Regions from separate parts of the Homo sapiens genome. Here regions 2 and 3 are each linked to region 1. Evidence: promoter capture Hi-C in 16 types of primary human blood cells and fetal thymus (Javierre and others, 2016). All regions are on one chromosome and are shown on one strand. The core of a region is centred on a gene start or on the middle of the fragment in contact, and the rest is flanking DNA. Distances in the headings are between cores, read along the strand shown.

Region 1 (2,700 bases), core at 141-2,640:
CTTCTGTTCAAAATCTGCCAATGAAATCCAAAGTCCATGTGAGAACCTTCACCTCTCCGACGTCATTTCCCACTTTCCCCTACTGTGAATTTCAGCCACACTGCTTCCCTGCTGTTCCTCTATTAATCTTGCATGCTCCAGTCATGGCTCTTCTCCCTCTGCCTGAATCAGACCCCTACTCTTACTCCCAGACTCCTATCCTTGAAGTCCTTTCTTAAATGTTACCTTCTCTCAAAGACTTAACCTGGACACTCCATTCCAAATTGCAACCCTCAGCCGCTAACACTCCCTCATCACTTCCCTCCCCTTATCTTTTTTCCTTAGCATTTACCACCAAACCCAAAACACAGCTTACTTCTGCTTACTGCCCATTTCCAAGAAGGCCAAAAATTCTGCGTTGTTTCCTGCTGCATCCCCAGCAACTATGCCTGGCACATATTAGACACTTAATAAATATTTGTTGAATCAATCAATGAACCAGATAGAGACTCTTAAAAACGTAAAGCTGTGATTTAAAAAGAAAGAAAGAAAAATATGATGTGGGAAAAAAGATAATCAAAACCGCTACGATTAAGAGATAATGATTCTCTTAAGCCTTTGCCACATCTGAACGCATAATCTGGAAGGAAATTAAAGCCACATGACTTAAATTAAAGCCAAGTGAAAATATTCTGGAGAAACAAAGTAAGCCAGTAACCTATTTCTCAATTTAAAAAAAAACCCGCAACGCAAAATGCCAGCATTTTCTCGGCATTTCTTCTCTAAAACATTCACACCTGCCAAACAGGTCTTGGCAAATAAACATTCTGCTCTTCTGAAAAACTGTGGTTCTCATGTTAGCAAATTTGGGACGAAATCCGTATGCAGAAAAAGCGCCGGGCCGCCCGCAATCCACCCACTCCATGACCCTTTTTTAGGACAAAATCCCTGGGCGCTGGGGCCTGCTGGAGGAGCTTCACGCAGTCTGGAGCTGAAGGGACACAGCGAGCGCCCCGACCCGCGACGCCCCGACTCCGCGAAGGCCTCCCTGGGAGGCTGGGGAAGCGTCGGGGGATCTCTCAGCGCAGCTCTGGGGCCCAGATTTCTGCGCCCGTCGTGCGGTGGCCAGAGAGGGACAGCGCAGCGCGGAGACGCGGAGACGCAGAGACTCCGCAGGGGGAGAGCCCGCGGTGCGTGAAACAAACCTGTTCTCTCCTCAGACCTCAAAGACAGCGGCTCCACCGCGGTACGCGGCCACCGGCTTTGGAGCCTGGACCCCAACTTGCCTCCTCTCGCGGAGAGACAGTCGCCGACGCTCGCTTAGCCGCCGAGACCTCGCCGCCAACTCTCTCACCTCTCGAGACGCCCAGGCCGCTCAGGCTCGAATCTTGCGGAGCAGGGGGCGGGACAATAGCGGCCGCGGCGCCCCACTCGGCAGAACTCCGCCACCAGGCGCGATGCCGGAACTACATGTCCCATGACGCTCTGGGAGGCCGCAGCTTTCCACCGGAAAGAGGGTGGCTGAGGTGGGGGAGGAGCCCAAAAGGCATTGTGGGAGTACAGCTCTTTCCTTTCCGTCTGGCGGCAGCCATCAGGTAGGCTGCGTTGAGGATCTTTGCTCTTCCATCCGCCTTTGATCGTCTTCCTCTTCAGCCATCCAGGTCCGGGGACCCTGCGTCCTCGGAGATAGGTCTCCCTCCTGTGCGGCCAGAGTTTGGTCAGGATGCGGGACAGCAAAGGGGTGGAGAGGCGGCCCCCGGGGCGGGTTGAGCGAAGATGTGATGGCGGCGCGAATTCGAGCTGGGCCCGGATCCTGGAGGAGGCGTGGGGCTGACGAATGGGGCGCCCGGGACAAGGCAGCCTAAAGTGAGGCTGCTGGTTGGGTGGGGTAGATGCATTTTCCTCGAGAGTTAATCCTCGGTGGCCGCAGCAGTACCTTGTCCTGTGATGTCAGCGGCATCTCCTTTCAGGTCCTCCTTGGGGACGCCGCCTGCCGCAGCCACCCGCCCCCTTGGTGCTCAGTTCTGGTTCTGTTAATTCGCCCCACCAAAACGTGCCGAGCACCGCTCTGTGCTGGGGTTGCGGAAGTGACTGAACGCGGCTCCGTGGGCGCAGTGGTGGGGGTTGGGCTAGCTGTCCCCGGCAGTTGGTGCAGAGCCATTTTCATTCCCGGCGGTTTCCTTGTTTTTGTTGGGGAACTAAGATGGACGGATACAGTCGTCTTATTGTACTTAAAGCGGATGATATTTAATACACAGTTTGATTTCACAGGTAAGCCAAGATGGGTGCATACAAGTACATCCAGGAGCTATGGAGAAAGAAGCAGTCTGATGTCATGCGCTTTCTTCTGAGGGTCCGCTGCTGGCAGTACCGCCAGCTCTCTGCTCTCCACAGGGCTCCCCGCCCCACCCGGCCTGATAAAGCGCGCCGACTGGGCTACAAGGCCAAGCAAGGTACGTGATCGACTGCGTGGATGCTTGGATAAAATTATATTCGAGAAAAGTTGGAAACCAGCTGTTAGGAAGACACTGCTGCCTCAGTGTCTTTCTTCGCATAGGGCTTTGGCAGAAAAAAGCTAGCAACACTGGTCAGTTACTGTATGCACTGTTGTCTAAAGTGGCAAGTGTGTCAAAGGTTACAAATCTGAATGAGTTCAGACTAAAGCAAAATAAACAGTGTGCCTCCCTGTGTGAGTAGCCTAAGGTGCATTGAAAAAGACTG
Region 2 (2,700 bases), core at 147-2,646, about 19 Mb before region 1:
AGAGGATGTAGCAATTATTTGGTAAGAAAGAATTAAAAGTGTTCTAATGAGTAAATACCCCAGATCTTAGAGAGGATTTGTCTGACTAGAGTGGAGAGAAGAAACCCCACAGTTACTGCAAGTAATTTTTTTTTTTTTTTTTACTGTGGCAGCTCATTAATTTTTAGTGACTGGGCATTGTAAAAAATATTTTAAAACTGGGTCTATTTTAGTTATAGATTACAAGGCAAAGCACAATAAAACATAGAAAGGAGTTCAGTGCTCACAGTGAGTACCTTCCTTCCATGGGCCTGTGCAGGTGGATAGAATGACACATGCCGCAGATCTGGGTGTGACTCAGGAGAGGGGAGTTACATGTGGTTCTCCTGATTACCATCTAGCTTGGATGCTACATGATGAGGGAGCTGTTTTCTGATGAGGTGGGCTGTTGAAGCCCACTCTGTTTCTAAGCGGCAGAGCAACAGAGTGAAATATTTACACAGAGCAGAACATTCTTGAGTTGGCAGAATTGGGCGTAAGGATCTCCCTGTCTCCTTTGAGCCCCTCCTGCAACCCTTGCACTTTTTGTACCTTTTTTGGCTGTCACTTGCGCTTGAGAGGCATATTTGAATCCATAGCTCTTGCTTTGAGGGGACCTTTTGCTATTGTATAAGTTTATTTCCAGAAAATCAACAAATAGAAAAAACAGGTACAATTTTCCAGCCAAGCAGTTTTCTGACTTCCCAGCTTATAGGAAATGAGCTAGCCCTAGTTCCTAGACTATAGCCCCCATATATATCTCGTTTCAAAAAAACAGTATCTAAAATTTTTTTTTTTTTTGAGACAGAGTTTCGCTCTTGTTGCCCAGGCTGGAGTGCAATGGCATGATCTCGGCTCACCGCAACCTCCGCCTCCTGAGTTCAAGTAATTCTTCTGCCTCAGCCTCCCTAGTAGCTGGGATTACAGGCGCCTGCCACCACGCCCAGCTAATTTTTGTATTTTTAGTAGAGACAGGGTCTTGCCATGTTGGCCAGGCTGGTCTTGAACTCCTGACCTTGGATGATCCACCCACCTCGGCCTCCCAAAGTGCTGGGATTACAGGCGTGAGCCACCGCACCCAGCCTAAAATTTTACTATAAATTCTTTGCTTTAGATTAGATGGTGTAACAGCATAAAACAAGGCAACTGGAGGGTTCAAATAAAATGAGACATTGGAGCTGTTATGCCTCTTTCACATAAGCCCCATTTTCCCCAGCTGAGGCACAGGCCTTTCAGAGACCACAGCAAGCCATCACAACACGAGAGGTGCTGTGCACCAGAAGCTTCTCTGACTGGAAGGTGAGATAAGGACCCATTAGGGTGATCCGAGGAGCAGATGAAGTGCTTTGGGATATGATGGAAGACTGCAGATATCAATGCATCTTGCTGGAAATAAAACTGGAGCTTTTTTGCTTTGGTTGCTAATAAAATCTTTAAACAGTTGTCTTATGTCTTCTCTTACTATCATTTTTTCCAAGCTTCTGCACTTATTTTCTGGATTTTTGGGAATGGGACAAATAAATAAATGAAGTCCCCAGAATTTCTCAAACTGTCCTTTATTTTACTAGTTCTTCATCCCTATTCTCCCAGATGTATTAGTTTTTTTGTTGTTGACTTTTTTGTAAAGTGTTACAAAGACATACCACAGTGCCTGAGGAGCTTCACCCTTGTCATCCTGAAGTTGGTTTCTTAAGGTTGTTTCAGAATGGAAAATTGGTGTAGATTATGGGGTGAGAGGTGTGTGGCAGAAACGTTTATGTAGCTCCAGTCAAGAAGTGAGAAAGGCCTCAATTCCTGCCTAGGTTCATGTTAAATGATATCTCAGAATTAACGGAAATAATCAAGACCCTTTGGATGAGTTATTAATGAAGAAATGGTGTAAAGAAGTTAATTTATACCCCCAACCATAGGGCAGATGAGTAATATTGACACTGTCAATTAATGTATTTACTTCTTTTTGTGTGTAATATAGGCTGTGGTGTCTAATTTCTGTATTAAAGTATTACAGGTGGGTCGTATGACAAGGGCTCTTCTTTAGTTCCTAATGATTGTGAAATCAGAGCTTTTTAAAGTTGGACAGGACCAAGGAGATTGTCTATGGTGATAAACCTGAATCTCAGAGAGGAGATGACTCACTGCCTCCTGACTTCCTGTGAGCATTCTTTCCACTCTGGTACAAGTGTGTCTCCACAGTTCTGTGACTTGATTCTACTTATGGACACCATAGAAAGTGTTACTTTGGGGGTAGAAAGACCTTTGCTGTATTAATTCACCCATAATTAGTTCCTGAATAAATAAGAGTTGCTGGCAATTATAGTTTCTGATGGGTGTTTACTTTTATTGTCTTCTCTTTTGAAATAAAGTCTTTTTGTTGAATTTTAATTTTCTTTTTCAGTTCAAATCTGAACATCAATGATGTACTAGGGAACTACTCATTGACTCTTGTTGATGCATTGGATACACTTGCAGTAAGTGTTCACCTTTTTTTAAAAAAATGAATTAAGATGTTTTAGAGTTGATTATCCCTAGTTCCCTCCAGCAGTGGGAATTCCAGGGAGCCTGATAAGTCAAAATGTATCATTAGCTTTGATAACTGTTATTTATTTTAATGACCTTAATGGGGAGAACAAGAAAAGTGTTGAAGGTTAAATGAGGGGAAATGTGATTCCATTAAAAAAAGGA
Region 3 (2,700 bases), core at 169-2,668, about 20 Mb before region 1:
AAAGGTCAAGGGCAGAACCCTGAATCACACCCACTTTTCAGAAACAGTCAGGCAGGAAAACAACAAGAGGATACTAACAAGGAAAGGTCTGCAAGATGGAAACACATTTAGGCCAATGGGACCTCAGAAGCTGCAAGGTCAGAAGGGTTTGTGAACCCAAAATTATCTGAGACAGGTCTCAATTTAGAAAGTTTATTTTCCCAAGCTTAAGAATGCGCCCCCAACATAGCCTCAGGCAGTCCTGATGACATGTGCCCAAGGTGGTTGGGATACAGCTTACTCTCACACATTTTAGGGAGACATAATACATCAATCAATACATGTAAGATTGGTTGGATCTGGAAAGGCAGACAACGAGAAGCGGGTGAGGGGTGGCTTCCAGGTCATAGGTAGATTTAAAGATTTTCTGATTGGCAACTGGTTATTATCTAAAGACCTAAAATCAATAGAAACGAATGTCTGGGTTGCAATAAGAGGTTGTGGATACCAAATTTGATCGTGGAGATGAAGCCTCCAAGAGGTAAATTTCAGAGAACAGATTGTAAATGTTTCTTATCAGACTTAAGGTGTGTGTTGATGTTGATGCTGGCTGGCTTTTCCTGAATTCCAAAAGGAAGAAGGGCATAATGAGGCATGTTGGACCCCCCTTCCCATCATGGCCTGAACCACTTTCTCAGGTTAACCTTGGCAGAGAGGAGGGGTCCCTTCAGATGGTTTGGAGGATTGGAATTTTATTTTTGGTTTACAGTTTCAAGGAGAAGCAGGACAATCATGTCAGAGAGCTTCAGTGAGGTTGAAAATGCTCCACCGGATTCAGCAGTCTTGAGGCTATCAGAATCCTTTGGCAGGGCAGGGGTTTGGAGGGGTGAGGGTAGAGGGATGGAGAGGAGGGAAAAGGACAGGCAAAGGGGCACGGATACCTCCATCAGGGAGTGAGCATGCCCCCACACAAATTCCTTAAGGCACCCTGTGAGGCTATCGCCTTGGCACAAACCCTATCACATGTCAGTCAACTTCCCGGCAAGCCGCAGACCTTTAGAAACCTTGGTGTGCGTTTCCCCGCTCGGTTTAGAACGCACCCCTGCCTCCACTCCACAAACGTGCAGTGAGCCCTCAAAAACCTGGACAAATGACCTCACCTCGAAAGCCCCCTCTCTGATGCTCCCAGGAAAAACTAAAGCACCTCACTTTGTTTCGTCCGTACCTTACATGGTTTTGTAATTATCTGTGGTGCCTCTGGCTGAAATCAAAACGGGAGCCAGACCCAAAAAGTCAAGGAAGGGAAGCGCCTTCCAGGCCACTCCTGAGAAGAAACGAACTACAATTCCCATGAGGCGGTGGGGCCACGGGACCACAAGTCCCAGCATCCACCGCGCGGCCCAGGACTGTCAGGGTAGTGGGCGTTGCGTGAGGCGGGTAAATGTTCGCGGAAGCGGCAAAGACGACACGGCCTTGTGGGATGGCGGAGTTTAAGGAGAAGCCTGAGGCCCCGACTGAGCAGCTGGATGTCGCGTGCGGCCAGGAAAACTTGCCGGTGGGCGCGTGGCCCCCGGGGGCCGCGCCGGCGCCCTTCCAGGTAGGGGCGGGGCCAGGCGGCGCGGGAGGCGGGCGCGCGGCTCCCCCACGTGGTCTCCTCAAGCCGCCTCGCTGGGACGGCCTCCCAGTCGCGACCTTTTGTCTTCTCTTACAGCGCACCCGTTGGTGCGCGGGAATAGGTGTGCATGCCCCGGCCTGGGCCTTTTTCTGTTGACCCACGGCATCACCTTAGCAAGGGTGTTGTCCTTTTCAGTCCATTCCCTGAAGCGCAGAACCGGAGGCCTTGTGAGAACCTGGCTTTTTGTCCAGTCCTGTCCTCAGAACTCAAGGAGGCATCACGGGGGGAGTCATTTACCTCCCTGGTCTCAGGTGTCTCTCACAGGTAGGATAAGCCGTGGGGCCTATTAATGGATCGCAGCCGGTGTCGTGCATAAAAACAGCCCCTCGAGTCAGCCTTAGCTGTGGTCTCCCTCACGCTGTGGGCTCTTGGGCGAGTGTAAATTAGCTGTGGCTCAGCCTTAGAGTCTTCCAGCGTACAGTGGAACAGTACCTCTCTTCCGGAGTGCTTTGAAAATGGCAAGGAAAATACACTTTCCGGTTTGCTGTAAGAACTCAGTAAATGTTTGCTTCTATTAACTACCTCAAAGCCCTTTCTACTCTCCTTTTTCTTTTTGAGACTGAGTCTCGCTCTGTCGCCCAGGCTGGAGTGCACTGGCGCGATCTCGGCCCACCGCAACCTCCACCTCCCGGGTTCAAGCGATTCTCCTGCCTCAGCCTCCCGAGTAGCTGGGATTACAGGCATGGGCCACCACGCCCGGCTAATTTTTGTATTTTTAGTAGAGACAGGGTTTCTCCATGTTGGTCAGGCTGGTCTCGAACTCCCAACCTCAGGTGATCCGCCCGCCTCGGCCTCCCAAAATGCTGGGATTACAGGCATGAGCCACGCTCCCAGCCTCTACTGACTTTCTTATCCCTCCGACCTTGGCCTGAGCGTTACCCAAGGAATAAGGAATGACCAAAGATTTTGAAGTGGAAAGAGCGCTGGACGTGGAAGTTGGAGAGTATGGTTCGGAGCTTAGACATCTTAGCTACTTCCCAGAGCCTGAGTTTCTTCATCTGCAAAATGAAAATAATAATTTAAAAATGCATAGCCCCTTTAACATC

Evidence for each region. The method cuts DNA at HindIII sites, captures the fragments that hold promoters and counts their contacts. A CHiCAGO score of 5 or more calls a contact.
Region 2: a contact is called between a fragment that was not itself captured here and the fragment with the promoter of NKIRAS1 in region 1, in 1 of 17 cell types (non-activated CD4 T cells). The highest score is 5.7, in non-activated CD4 T cells.
Region 3: the fragment with the promoter of SETMAR here is called in contact with the fragment with the promoter of NKIRAS1 in region 1 in 1 of 17 cell types (activated CD4 T cells); the score reaches 6.2 in activated CD4 T cells.

The regions. Positions count from the first base shown.
Region 1 is chr3:23,915,600-23,918,299 of GRCh38, forward strand. NKIRAS1 (NFKB inhibitor interacting Ras like 1) reads right to left here and starts at 1,391. Exons shown (of 5, transcript NM_020345.4): 1 at 1,185-1,391. RPL15 (ribosomal protein L15) reads left to right here and starts at 1,533. Exons shown (of 4, transcript NM_002948.5): 1 at 1,533-1,574; 2 at 2,251-2,432. The coding sequence starts at 2,261. RefSeq lists enhancers at 995-1,794, 1,046-2,245, 2,175-2,274. The HindIII fragment of the contact is 19,179 bases long and covers 1-2,700 here.
Region 2 is chr3:5,192,796-5,195,495 of GRCh38, forward strand. It overlaps EDEM1 (ER degradation enhancing alpha-mannosidase like protein 1), which reads left to right. Exons shown (of 12, transcript NM_014674.3): 2 at 2,414-2,486. Among named protein-coding and RNA genes, the nearest start is that of EDEM1, 6.4 kb to the left of the region's middle. RefSeq lists enhancers at 1,755-1,824, 2,225-2,294. The HindIII fragment of the contact is 195 bases long and covers 1,300-1,494 here.
Region 3 is chr3:4,301,951-4,304,650 of GRCh38, forward strand. It overlaps SETMAR (SET and mariner transposase domain methyltransferase), which reads left to right and starts at 1,419. Exons shown (of 3, transcript NM_006515.4): 1 at 1,419-1,576. The coding sequence starts at 1,421. It also overlaps a transcript of SUMF1 not described here. RefSeq lists enhancers at 1,016-1,758, 1,787-1,856 and a silencer at 1,357-1,696. The HindIII fragment of the contact is 4,274 bases long and covers 204-2,700 here.